Regions from separate parts of the Homo sapiens genome. Here all the other regions are linked to region 4. The links are contacts of gene promoters, found by promoter capture Hi-C in blood cells and fetal thymus (Javierre and others, 2016). All regions are on one chromosome and are shown on one strand. The core of a region is centred on a gene start or on the middle of the fragment in contact, and the rest is flanking DNA. Distances in the headings are between cores, read along the strand shown. Region 1 overlaps NSL1 (NSL1 component of MIS12 kinetochore complex). Region 2 overlaps KCTD3 (potassium channel tetramerization domain containing 3). Region 3 overlaps USH2A (usherin). Region 4 holds the start of CENPF (centromere protein F). Region 5 has its middle 1.8 kb from the start of RPS6KC1.

Evidence for each region. Contacts are between HindIII fragments. The CHiCAGO score rates a contact against its expected background, and 5 or more counts as called.
Region 1: a contact is called between a fragment that was not itself captured here and the fragment with the promoter of CENPF in region 4, in 1 of 17 cell types (fetal thymus). The highest score is 11.3, in fetal thymus.
Region 2: a contact is called between a fragment that was not itself captured here and the fragment with the promoter of CENPF in region 4, in 7 of 17 cell types (M2 macrophages, monocytes, erythroblasts and 4 more). The highest score is 11.3, in M2 macrophages.
Region 3: a fragment that was not itself captured here is called in contact with the fragment with the promoter of CENPF in region 4 in 1 of 17 cell types (monocytes); the score reaches 5.2 in monocytes.
Region 5: a fragment that was not itself captured here is called in contact with the fragment with the promoter of CENPF in region 4 in 2 of 17 cell types (fetal thymus and naive CD4 T cells); the score reaches 7.3 in fetal thymus.

Annotation. Positions count from the first base shown.
Region 1 is chr1:212,788,959-212,791,658 of GRCh38, reverse strand. It overlaps NSL1 (NSL1 component of MIS12 kinetochore complex), which reads left to right. Exons shown (of 6, transcript NM_015471.4): 1 at 1-129. Among named protein-coding and RNA genes, the nearest start is that of NSL1, 1.5 kb to the left of the region's middle. RefSeq lists an enhancer at 431-1,209. The HindIII fragment of the contact is 1,488 bases long and covers 507-1,994 here.
Region 2 is chr1:215,604,687-215,607,386 of GRCh38, reverse strand. The region is part of intron 13 of KCTD3 (potassium channel tetramerization domain containing 3); the gene reads right to left. Among named protein-coding and RNA genes, the nearest start is that of KCTD3, 39 kb to the right of the region's middle. The HindIII fragment of the contact is 1,839 bases long and covers 455-2,293 here.
Region 3 is chr1:215,625,977-215,628,676 of GRCh38, reverse strand. All of the region lies in intron 71 of USH2A (usherin), which reads left to right. Among named protein-coding and RNA genes, the nearest start is that of KCTD3, 60 kb to the right of the region's middle. The HindIII fragment of the contact is 1,440 bases long and covers 637-2,076 here.
Region 4 is chr1:214,601,915-214,604,614 of GRCh38, reverse strand. It overlaps CENPF (centromere protein F), which reads right to left and starts at 1,420. Exons shown (of 20, transcript NM_016343.4): 1 at 1,294-1,420. RefSeq lists a silencer at 1,317-1,526. The HindIII fragment of the contact is 1,274 bases long and covers 884-2,157 here.
Region 5 is chr1:213,048,094-213,050,793 of GRCh38, reverse strand. No RefSeq gene overlaps it. Among named protein-coding and RNA genes, the nearest start is that of RPS6KC1, 1.8 kb to the left of the region's middle. The HindIII fragment of the contact is 3,639 bases long and covers 1-2,700 here.

The DNA.
Region 1 (2,700 bases), core at 1-2,500, 1.8 Mb after region 4:
TTTCGGGTGCGCTGCACCTCGAAGCGGGCTGTGACCGAAATGCTACAACTGTGCGGCCGCTTCGTGCAAAAGCTCGGGGACGCTCTGCCGGAGGAGATTCGGGAGCCCGCTCTGCGAGATGCGCAGTGGGTACGGGACCAGTTAGCCAGTTCTTTACTCATCATCCTCTTACCCAACACCCAGGATCTTAGGATTCAGAAAGATCCCACGCCAGGCCTTGGCAGAATTAACGGTGCCCCAGGCTACTGTAGAACCAGTTCGAGAAACGCTAGAGGAGAAAGAAATAGATGCTAATGTCAGCTGGGTCTTATTAATTACTTAGACCAGCGCTGTCCAGTGAAAATACAAGGCAAGCTAATCTTTATGTAGTTTTAAACTAAAAGTAAGAAATAGGTGAAGTTAATGGAAATAAGACATTTTGTTTAACCCAATAAATCCAAGGTATTTTAACATGTAATAATATCAAATGAATGAGATATTTTACATTCTTTTGTTCGTACTAAGCTTTTCAAATCTGGTGTGCTGCATTTACGGCACATCTTCGAACTAGTTACATTTAAGCGCTCAGTAACTACAAAGTGGCTAGTGGCTCACCTGTTGGACAATGCAGCCGCAGACAATGAGGAATTCTCCTGGAAAGGGTAATTCTGGAAGTCAGCCATTCACCCAAGCAGCATTTGATCTTTCCTTTTGCATGTTTTATTTATTTATTTATTTTATTTTATTTTTTTTTTTTGAGACAGAGTCTCGCTCTGTCGCCCAGGCTGGAGTGCAGTGGCGCGATCTCGGCTCACTGCAAGCTCCGCCTCCTGGGTTCACGCCATTCTCCTGCCTCAGCCTCCTGAGTAGCTGGGACTCCAGGCGCCTGCCACCACGCCCGGCTAATTTTTTTGTGTTTTTAGTAGAGACAGGGTTTCACCGTGTTAGCCAGCATGGTCTCGATCTCCTGACCTCGTGATCCGCCCGCCTTGGGCTCCCAAAGTGCTGGTATTACAGGCGTGAGCCACCTCGCCCGGCCTATTAACCTTTATTTTTACTGTTTGCACTGTGGTCATTCATAACTCACAAATGTGCGGTATTATGAGCTTTTAAATTTTTTCCGCTAATATAAGTAGATTGGTGCCTGTTATAAGGAAGCACACAATCCCTTTATTTCTTGTGTTCCCAAAAAACTACCACCTTCAGGGCTTTGCAAAAATATTTAAGAAAGGCTTGGGAAATGTGGTATAGAGGCAAATGTATGATCTTAGTAAAGTTTTCAACCAACACAATTTTTTTTAACCTATTTTAGTCTTGTAAAGAAAATGTTTTCACTCTAAAACAGGCAAAAGGGGTCGGGCGCGGTGGCTCACGCCTGTAATCCCAGCACTTTGGGAGGCCGAGGCGGGCGGATCACGAGGTCAGGAGATCGAGACCATCCTGGCTAACATGGTGAAACCCCGTCTCTACTAAAACAATAATAATAATAATACAAAAAATTAGCCGGCCATGGTGGCAGGCACCTGTAGTCCCAGCTACTCGGGAGGCTGAGGCAGGAGAATGGCGTGAACCCGGGAGGCGGAGCTTGCAGTGAGCCCAGATCTCGCCACTGCACTCCAGCCTGGGTGACAGAGCGAGACTCCATCTCAAAAAAAAAAGGTTCAGTGGAAGAATGAAGAAACACTTCCTGGGTTGTGACTCTGTATGTAGTTTTGTATATAGTGACTCTTACGTCATTCCCTCCTTGCAAGCAAGGCAAGAATAGGGATATATCTCAGGACGTTTTTAGTAGTTTTTTGGGAGAAGACTTTTGTTGTATAATCTTAGAATTTGTCTGATTCTAGGAAATGCTAAGGTATTTAAAACATTTAGGTGTCTTACAGAAAAAGAGGAACTTGGCTTAACCTATTATATCCTATTTAGTGGGACGATAAAGTGAATTATAAGATAAAGTTTACAGGGCTTAGACTACCACAGGAATTCACTTGTGTTTTATTTTAAATAAAGCAGAAGCTTTATTTTGTATCTCTGTTTAAAACTGCATATTAAGTAGCAGATTTTCTTTAAAAACAGTATTGGTAGCAGTCTGCAATGAATGTTACAAAGACAATATGTTTTCTCAGCAATTCTTGAAAGTAATTCTAGAAAATAATTTTAAAACATACATAGGCCGGGCGCGATGGCTTACGCCTGTAATCCCAGCACTTTGGGAGGCTGAGGCGGGCGGATCACCTGAGGTCAGGAGTTCCAGACCAGCCTGGCCAACACGGTGAAACCCTGTCTATACTAAAAATACAAAAATTAGCCGGGTGTGATGGCGCTTGCCTGTAATCCCAGCTATTCGGGAGACTGAGGCAGGAGAATCGCTTGAACCTGGGAAGCGGAGGTTGCAGTGAGCCAAGATTGCGCCATTGCACTCCAGCCTGGTTGACAAGAGTGAAACTCCATCTCAAAAAAAACAAAAAACAAACAAACAAAAAATAAAATAAGGATTTTACTTTATGAAATCTTTGAAATGTAGAATATGTACTTTAACTCATAATTATCAGTAATTTGGTTTATGTTATTTTTAATTATACAAAGGGTACAAAATATATGCTCATAAAAAAATTCAAACAGTAGCATAAAGCAAAATTCTTTGAGTTCCCCTTCCCCATCCCTCTTCCTTCTAGGACATAAGGTACTATTTTGGAGAGTACTTGGGGAGAGTAAACTTTCTAT
Region 2 (2,700 bases), core at 125-2,624, 1.0 Mb before region 4:
TGTACTTTTTTTTGTCTGAGTAGATACTCTATTTGAAAATATACACCATAAAGTGTATCACTAATGCAAAAACTACTTTTTTTGGCATGCTTTAATAAAAAATATACTGATTTTGCCATTTATGATTTTAGAAAATATGTTATTATTAGCAATGAACTATGAACTCATCAGTAAATATTAGGAAAGTATCTAAAATTTCTTATATACACACATACATAATATTTACTACTGGGTAAAAATGTGTTACATATTCTACAGTTACACATATTTTAAACAAAACTTTAGAAAGAAATTTAATTTTGGCAAACAGCAATAAGTAACATCTGTGTACTTTCTATTCTTATATAACAAAATTCTCAATTATTAGACTGTCAGTTTTCTGGTGAAAAGGGGACATTTTGTTCTAGGCTATTTAGTTTCACGGGAAATCATTTCCTGATTTCACTACTAAGCTTACTAGGATTCAGAAAAATAATTTAAATATTTTTAGTTGATTCAATTGGACAATTACGTCAATTTTGCTAATATTAGTCATTATCCAAAGTTTTTCTTTAAGGGATTAAAATGCACTATAGGGAAAACAATGTCATTACATATGTGTTAATATCCACCAGGTGGCAGAATAACATAACTGAGTATACACAAAATACTCCAGATTTTTTGTTAAAAAGGATATTTCTCTTGACAAACTTACAAAAGTTTCAAACCTACATGAAATATCTGATGTTAAAATGCAAGTTTTACAAAGTAGTTCCTTGGTATCACATCCCACAATAACATTATAACCACCAAAATAATAGCAATTATTACAGAGTATCTCTATACATTATCATCTAAACATCACAATAACCCTTCAAAACGGCCCATTTTCTCAGAGAACTGAATTGCCTTATTTCATAACATTTATTCAGCATCTTTTACGTGTCAGAATTATGCTAAGTGCTGAGAACACAACAAAGTTTCTGCTATTGGAGAATTTTCTAGAAGAGATAGAGATAATAAACAAGCAAATAAATGAATAAGTGATAAAGCTATGAAGAACACAAAGCAAGGTACCGTTAGAGAAAGTTATTGTTGGACAGAGGTTTGGCTAATTTAATTTAAAGCAGGTGGCCAAGGGGCACTCATTGAGAAGGGCTTTGAAACGGCACCAGAATGACAAGAATGCAGTCAAACAAATACCTATGGGCAAACCATTTCAAATAAAAAGAACAAACACAAAAGTTCGAAGGCATTTTTAAGAAATAGAAAAGCCAACAGGTTAGAGTGTTATCAGCAATGAGAAAAGTGACATGGGATTGGGAAGAAATTTTAAAGGTAGGTAGAATCTAGAACAAGAAAAGCCATACAGGCTATGGTAGAAATTTAAATTTATTCTAAATACAATTAGAAGCCATCAGGAATCAAACTTCGTTTGTGTTTCTAAAAGATGCTTCTGGCTGCTGTGTGGAACATGTACCATAGAGAGGGAAAAGTTGAGAAGTTACTACAGTCATCTAGGGGAGAAAGGATGATGACGTGAGACACTAGACTGACAGCAATGAAAAGTGACTGGATTTGTGACATAATGTGGCAGCAAAACCAACAGGACTTACTGATGAATTGTACTATGTGGGAGGTGAAAGAAAGGGAGAAATCAAGGGTGATTCCTAGATTTTCAGCTTGAGTAGATAAGTAGATGGTGATACTGTATACTAAGATGGCTTTTGAGGGAGAAATCATTAAGTTTTATTTTGTCCAACTTAAATTTGAGATGCCTATTAAACATACAACCAGAGATCCAGACACTGGATATACAGGGTTTGGAACTCTTTGGATGGTCACAGGTGGAGGAAAGTTTGGGAACCACTGACATATAATTACTATTCAAATAACTAGGAAAGTGCAGATAAAGAATACAGAGTCCAGGAAAGAGCTCAAGGGCAATCCAACACTCAGCAACTGGGCAAAAGATGAGGAACCAGCAAGAGTTAGAAACTCCTCAGTGGGGCAGGGGAGTAATGTTTTATGAAAACCTAACAGAGACTGTTTTAGCAAGGCATACTTATACCACAAACAATTACACATTCAATAAAAGCATAATCATTCAGCTATGGACTGAATTTCAGCTCCACATGGTGTTTAATTAGATTGAGAAACTTTCACTACATCTTTCACAAAAGATGCATTATCTTCTAGCCAGCCTTCACAAAAACAAATCTGACACATGAAAACCATGTTTGTAAAAATTTTAAGTTGGGCAAGAACTGCTCTACAAAAGGAGTTAATGTAAGACTCCTCTAGAAAGCAAGCTTTACTGACACACCCAACTCACAATGCAATTTTCACAAAGCCTTTTAGAAATCATCTTCCATACACAATGAATTTCTTCAATAGAATTTTACTTTGTAATCAGAAAGTACTATTCGTTAAACTTGAAAATTAGTATTTAATTTTTTATGTATCCAATTAATATTTAATTAAAAATTTTATATTATGAAGAACTACAAACCCAAGAAAAGCTTATTTTCTTCAAATAATCTCTACAATTGTAATTTTTATTATTTTTGAGATGACAAAATATCAAAATACACATTTAAATCTACAGTTTTAGCATTAAACCATAATATAATCAACCCAATTTATATTAAAAGTAAAACTTGAAAAATTTAATAAAAATTCCTCTTAGCAGGGTCATAATAAATATTTTGCAATAAGATA
Region 3 (2,700 bases), core at 107-2,606, 1.0 Mb before region 4:
TTTACTAATGTTACTTCAGTTGTTTGATAAGCAGGGTAGAAACTTTGTCTTGTTCTTCTGGTATGCAATAGATGCTTAAAAATAAATGCTTATTGGCTAGCCGTGGTGGCTCATGCCTGTAATCCCAGCACTTGGGGAGGCCGAGGTGGGCGGATCACCTGAGGACAGGAGTTTGAGACCAGCCTGGCCAACATGGTGAAACCCTGTCTGTACTAAAAATACAAAAATTAGCCAGGTGTGGTGGTGGGCACCTGTAATCCCAGCTACTAGGGGGGCTGAGGCAGGAGAATTGCTTGAACCCAGGAGGTGGAGGTTGCAGTGAGCCGAGACCGCGCCACTGCACTCCAGCCTGGGTGACAGAGACTCCATCTCAAAATAAATAAATAAATAAGCAGCAAACAGGTTATACTTCATATACTTGGAGCAGATGACAGGAAACATTGGAATGGGCCTAAAACAAGGCATAAAATACAAGCACTTGTTTTACTAAAACAAAAAGGTACTTTTTTTGTTTTGCCTTTTCCTATTGGTGTATGGGTAGACGCAAAAAGAATATTTTGTATCAACAGGTGAACATGGTTGCTTTCCAAAACCTTAGGAAATGATGACAAATGAGGGTGTTACTATTTATAAGCTTCATCTTTCATAATTTCAGTCCAGTGGGTACAAATCATTGGCTCTTTGAAAGGTAACCTCTTCGTGATATAACATTTATTATCAGTCTCTGAGCGGCTACAATAACAAAAATCCTAGAATTTTTGCCAACTATCAAATTTCATTGTGCTAACTTCCTAGATGCCCGCTGCAGTACCTACCATTCCACTGGGCCTGTTAGAAAATAAACAGATAGGCCAGGCACAGTGGCTTACGCCTGTAATCCCAGCATTTTGGGAGGCCGAGGTGGGCGGATCACGAGGTCCAGAGTTAGATAGAGACCAGCCTGACCAACATGGTGAAACCTCGTCTCTACCAAAAATACAAAAATTAGCTGGGCGCGGTGGTGCGCACCTGTAATCCCAGCTACTCAGGAGGCTGAGGCAGGAGAATTGCTTGAACCTGGGAGGTGGAAGTTGCAGTGAGCTGAGATGGCCCCACTGCACTCCAGCCTGGGTGACAGAGCAAGACTCTGAAAAAAGAAAAAAAGGAAAAAAGGAAGGAAGGAAGGAAGGAAAGAAGGAAGGAAGGAAGGAAAGAAGGAAGGAAGGAAGGAAGGAAGGAAGGAAGGAAGGAAGGAAGGAAGGAAGGAAGGAAGGAAGGAAGGAAGGAAGGAAGGAAGGAAGGAAGGAAGGAAAGAAGGAAGGGAGGGAGGGAGGGAGAGAAAGAAAAGAAAAGAAACATAACCAGCTAGGAAGTTAGCTCCTGTGTTTACTCCTCTGGGGTAAAATTATTCACCTCCACTTCTTTCAATCATCTGCTTCTGTTTTTGGATTTGCTCTCATCTTTCTCCTCCAAGTTCTCACTTTTCCTTCACTGAAAAGTTGATGACTTCCATGAAGCCTTTCTTGACTAATAGCAAATAATAAAGGGAGTTCGCTGGACCCAGGTTCCCTAACACTATATAAAAAAATGTACCATCCTTCTGGCCTGTTCAGAATGATTGTATAATATATACATATATATAATATGCATTTTAAAATCACAGGCTGTTTGATGTTGTTGTAACCTCAACTACATGAGTCCATTTCAGATCTAAAGTTTTTAAAAGGCAGGGATAATTATATTTGGTTGAAACAATGAATTGCTAACTGATCATTTTTGACATGCAAAACAGCAATTGCTATACATTCAACATAATACATTGAAAGTTCAGATGAATTATTACATCTAATCTTCACAAACTGTAGGAAGTAGGTTCTATTATCATCCTCATTTTTTACAAAAAGAACTGAGGTTTAGAGAGATGAGTGATTTAATGAGAGATTACACAGCTAGCAATTATTTTTATGGGTTTGGGTTCTTAAAAACATCATCTGACTACAGAGCTCCTATTTGTAACTATTATACTGTATTGTCATTTTTGCTTGCTTTTTACGGTACTAATAATGGGCAATGTGCAAAGGGACTCAATAACAAGCTTTTGAAGGTGCCAGTACTTGGCAAGTTATCTGTTTATTATAACATTATAACCAACATTACTAACCCTATTTGATAAATACAAAATACAGCACAAGAGTGGGAAGAAATGGAGCACAAATAGCTAGCATTCTGCCTCTTCCATTTACCGTTTGAACTAAATCCATATATATGTGTGTATATATATGTATATATACAGATCACCAGAGGTCAGGAGTTCAAGACCAGACTGGCCAACATGGTGAAACCCCATCTCTACTAAAAATACTATATACATACATACATACATACATATATATATATAGTGTATATATACACTAAAATATATAGTATATATATGTAGTGTCTATATAGTGTGTATATATATACTAAAAATATATATATATACCCCCAGCTAATTTATTTTTATCAAGTATATATGTACACACACACACATCCCACTCTACAGATGAGTAGACTGAGGCTTCTGAGGCTTAGGTTAAAATATGACACAATATAACCCTCAAATCACATATACATTTTGAATTAGTCTATAGTTCATGTGTGCATGTGATGTGATCCTTTCAATAAGAGAAATTTAAGGCAAGGTCTGTTTTAGACCCCACCATGGTGTTGAGAATAAAAAAG
Region 4 (2,700 bases), core at 171-2,670:
CCAACAGAATATAAAAAGGAGCAATTTAGAAAGATGATTAGAAAATGAGGGGAATAAACATAAAGAAGACTGGCAAGCTGAATGCTTTTCCATTCCAAAGTCTAAGATAGAGAACAATATAGATGTAGACCAAGCTAACTGTGATTAGAGCAGATTTTGGCCCATTAAGGGATCAGCTATCAGCCACCTGTATTGGGCCATTGGGGCAAAAGAACAAAAAAATAAACCCAGAAGTTTACTTTTGAGGAACAGGGAATCGAGGTGGGGAGTGAAGAAAAGCCCTGGATGAAGGTTCCTGCATGGAGGACTTGCAGGACTATTGTCCTTTCCAGAAAATGCTGTATCTTTATCTCTTAAATACGTGGAGGGCACTCTTCATGCCCGAACTACCCAGTCCCTTAGTCCCCAAGGAAGCTCTTGTGTGACCTCCTCCTGCCCCACCTCCACCACTGCTTTCCCGTTGTCAGAATTCCCCACCTCCTCCAAAAAGCCAGAGTCCCCGTGCACTGTACCAAGGCTGGGTCTGAGAATGATAACCCTGCCTTCTCCTCTAGGTCAGGCTCAAGGACACGACCCATGCCTTTTATTTCTGGGTCCTCATTACACAGCCGAGCCGGGCACACAGGCGCGTTCAAATAAATGTGGAAGGGAGGACCGGGCGTAGTGGCTCATGCTTGTAATCCTGGCACTTACAGAGGCCAAGGCGGGAGGATCCCTTGAGCCCAGGGGTTCCAGACCAGCCTAGGCAATATAGGGAGGCCTATCTCTATTTAAAAAAAGAAAAAAAAAAATGTGGACGGGAGGAAGAAGAGAGGGGAAAGAGAAATGCTCGCGTAACTAACCATAGGCACCCCACGTCGCCAACCAGATCAAAACTCAAGCTTACATCTACTCAATAAAACAAAGGACCAGGGCCTGAATTTCAATAAGGTTGGTTACGGGACTGGGAAGGCGGCTTGGAAATACCTAGTCATCTCCAATTCTTTTACGGAGGAAGAAAATGATCCCCTAAAGTGTGAGTCCGTGACCGAGTAGGGTCTGGGACACTAATCCGAGACCAGTTTGAACCCGAGCAGAAGGGCGCAGACACCCCTACGAACCACATCCCGGGGCGGATTCTCCAGTTCGGTCGGGTGGGAGGGGGCGGTCCCCGGCACCTACAGGGCCGGGAGAGTGATCCCAGAGGCCTCCCCGCCCAGTACCCGCCGGCAAAAAGCCAGCGGCACCCCCACGCCGCCCGCCGCCTACCGCCCGCCGCCAGGGCCAGGATCCGGACCCAGTCAGGACGCTCACCTTGCTCTCGGGGACGGGAAAACGACCTCTCGGAGAGTACAGTTCTGGCGCGGCTTCGGCGGGCTGGAGCCCAGAGTCTAATTCAAACTGCCCGCAGCCGCCACCGGTGCCCAATTCGCCCGCTTCTGGTCTCAACCAAACTTACCTCCACGCCTATTGGTCACTCTAAGTAGCTGCGGACCAATCCGCGCCTGCGCACTCAGACTGCCGCGTCTGATTGGCCCTTTCGGATGGATTTTAAAAACAAGCCCTCTACTGGAGGTGCCTGCGCCGGAGTTTACTGTTCTTTTTTGTTGTTGCGGGGAGACGGAGACCACGTGCTTTTGCTAATGCTAGACGCGGTTTTGGACCGCTATTTCCGCAAAAGTCAGGGAATGCGCCCGCTGATTAGGAAGGCGTGGTCTATCGCCTACAGCCAGGGGAACTGTGCTGCCTGGTGAAACCTCTTTTAAACTGCACGTACCAATCTACTTAATTAAACGTAAATTTAGGACATAGATACTAGGTGCTGTGTTTGTCATGCATTCTTTATCCGGTGTCGTTCTTAACAATTCTTTGAGGAAAGTATTATCCTCATTTTATTAAAAAGTTAACAGGCTCATAGAAGCTAAGTACAGTAATTTGAAATTGAATCTACGCAATGCAGGATGTCGCTCTTAAATGCTGTCCTTTATGGTTCATATTTCTAAGACGTGATTCTGAACACTTATTTTCCGGGATTAAGGCGTGGGGGGAGGACACTGCATCAGAATTTAAAATTCAGAAGAATCCTCAAAACGGGGTGTAATGCTTTTCGTGAAGCCCACTAGTTTTCTATGTATGTTATATACTCGTTTTATTTCCCTATTAAACTATAAATAAGCTTCTAAAGGCAGAAGCAAAACAATTAATTGTTAAAGTAATAGATCTCTAATGCTGTTGTCTGCCTCAATAGGTACCAAACTTTCCAGCCCCCTGACTTTACCTTTCATTAGACTGTTCCTGCAGTACCCAATTCAAGTGTCACTTTTTTTATAAAACCTCCCTAATCCCACCCACTCCTTAGAGATAATTATTTCCTAGACCTTTCCTGGAACTTGCAAACTTCATGTTTAGGATTTTCGCCGTGTCTTGTCTTGTATTTATGTCTACGTCTGACTCCCCCATCAGACTCAAAAATTCCTTTACAGTAAAATCTGTTTTAATTCATTTTTGCATCCCTAGTAACTTTGCACATAGTAATTTAAAATCCAGATCATCTTGGGAGATAAAACTGCTATTTGGGGAAAGGCCTTGTTCTTACTATCTTCTACCTTCGAATCCCCAAAGGGAGGGGAGAGAGCAGGTAGGGGAGGAAAACTTTTGTCAGACATTGCCATGATCAGTCTAGTGTCTGGTAGTTTTAGAATTTGAACCAAATTGTGTCTG
Region 5 (2,700 bases), core at 136-2,635, 1.6 Mb after region 4:
AACACATCTGCACAGCAAGCCCCCAACCCAAAAAAGCTCCCAAGCCAATATCAATCTTTTAAAAATCCCCACAGGTTCGAAAATCTGGAGTCCGCCTCTGGCTAGAAGAAAGAAATATGTCACTCGACCTCTCCGAGTCACTCACTACAGTTTCCAATTTCAGCTGAGGTTGTTATCAACGCTTGGCAGTTCCTTTATCTTTTTGTGATCAAGGTTCCTTTTCATTCCACAAAATATTCATGCCAAGTCTTTGCCATTATCCTAAAGACTCTGTTCCTCTTCCTTTTGCCTCCCTACTCTCCGCACCACCACTCTTCTTTACAGGGAAAAAAGAAGAGGAAGAAGCAGCTATGGCCCTTAGTACCAATTCCTTTGTCTTCTCACATTTCCATGCCAGTCTGAAACGTACACATATCACTTGCTCATTTTTACAGCTAATGACTCCACATGTGATCTGAATCCCATCCTCTTTGGCAAACCTTAAGACACTGTTTCAATGACATTCCAAATCTCCTTTCTGTATGTTTAATCTCTTTCTCACCACTGGCTCCTTCTTTTCAACCTACATATATCTAAGTCTATTAGTCATTCATTAAACCTGAATTCACCACCTACTATGTGCCAGACATGATGCCAATTTGGCATTGGAGTTACAAAGATAGTCCCTGTTCTCCGACCGGGCGCGGTGGCTCACGCCTGTAATCCCAACACTTTGGGAGGCCGAGGCGGGCGGATTACCTCAGGTCAGGAGTTCGAGACCAGCCTGGCCAACATGGTGAAACCCCGTCTCTACTAAAAATACAAAAAATTAGCCAGGCGTGGTGGCAGGCGCCTGCAATCCCAGCTACTTGGGAGGCTGAGGCAAAAGAGTCGTTTGAACCCGGGAGGTGGAGGTTTCGGTGAGCCAAGATCGCACCATTGCACTTCAGCCTGGGGGACAAGAGCAAGACTTCTCTCAAAAAAAAAAAAAAAAAAAAAAAGGTAGATAGTCCCTGTTCTCAAGTACCATCTAGTAGGAAAAATAAAGACACAAAATATACTGTGATAAGTACCATGGTGAATGTATATATGGAGTACTAAAGAGCACATCAATTCAGGATGGAAGATCGCCTAAGGCTTTCTGATAGAAGACTGAGTCTTGGAAGAGAGATGGGAGTTAGCCAGGAGAGAAGGGAGTAAAGGGCATTATTCATTTTGCCTTCTTTTCTTCCTTTCTTTCTCCTTCCACTCACCGTCAAAGTTGTTTAAGTTGATTTTAAAGTAATCTACATCAACATTGCATCATCACCCATTTATTCCCATGTCCAATTCAATCTGGTTTCACCTCTATATTGCTACTCTGAAACTGCTCTGAAAACAGTTTCCAGTGACCTCAATTTGCCCAATATTTCTGGATTTTGAAAGTCTCTGACCATTTCTACCTTTTTAAAACTTTTGTATATTCTTAGCATATGAGTCAGCATTATTTCTCTTTTCTCTTTTATACTCAGATGACTTGCTCTTTTTTCAGTCTCCTTTGCTGGTTTCTATTCCTTCCAAGAACTTTTAGTATTCTTGTTTCTCAAGATTTTGCCTTTGATCCTTTGTTCTTTATTCCCATTGACTTGCAAATGTCTATCTCCCAGCATATCTCTCTTCCAGGACTTGACTCACTTTACCTACATCTTTATTATATATCTAACACTGGAAACAGAACAAATCAAAATCTCAACATTTTTTCCCCTCATATACCTATTTCTATCTCCATGACTGGTTTTACTCTCCATTTAATTACATTAGTTAGCTATTTGATATCATCCTTAGCAACTTCCTCTCCATGTTCTCTGAGTTTCTTTGATTTACCAGATATTATTGATTAAAAATTTAAAAAGTGGAAAAACATGTGCCACGAAAACACTACTAGAAATACTTAAGACAAAGAAATATGATCAGGAATAAAGAAGGACAAAACTTAAAGAATTCAATTCATAAAGAAGACAGAGCAATTCTAAATGTGTATATACCTAATAACAAAACTAAAAATGTAAAAAGCAAAAACGATTAGAACTAAAAGAAGAAATAGACAAATCCACAATTATAGTTAAAATTTCAACACTCAGGCCTGGCATGGTGGCACATGCCTGTAATCCTAGCACTTTAGAAGGCTGAAGTGGGTAGATCACTTGAGGCCAGGAGTTCAAGACCAGCCTGGCCAACATGGCAAAACCTCATCTCTACTAAAAATACAAAAATTAGCCGGCGTGGTGGCACATTCCTGTAACCCCAGTCACTTGGGAGGCTGAAGCACAAGAATCACTTGAACCAGGGAGGTGGAGGTTGCAGTGAGCCAAGATCATGCAACTGCACTCTAGCGTGGGCAATAGAGCAAGAATCTGTCTCAAAAAAAACAAAAAAGATTTCAACGCTCCTCTCTCGGTAATTGACAAAACATGTAAACAAATAAATGAATAAGGATACAGAAAACCTGAAAAGCTCTATCAACCAACTCTACCTGATAGACATTTATAGAACACGCCACTCAATAGTAGCAGAAAATGTTTGTTTCAAGTGTACAGAAAACATTCAACAAGTCAGGCCATATCCTGGGCTATAAAATAAATGTTAACAGGCTGGGCGCAGTGGCTTATGCCTGTAATCTCAGCACTTTGGGAGGCCAAGGTGGGCAGATAGCCTGAGGTTGGGAGTTGGAGACCAGTCTGA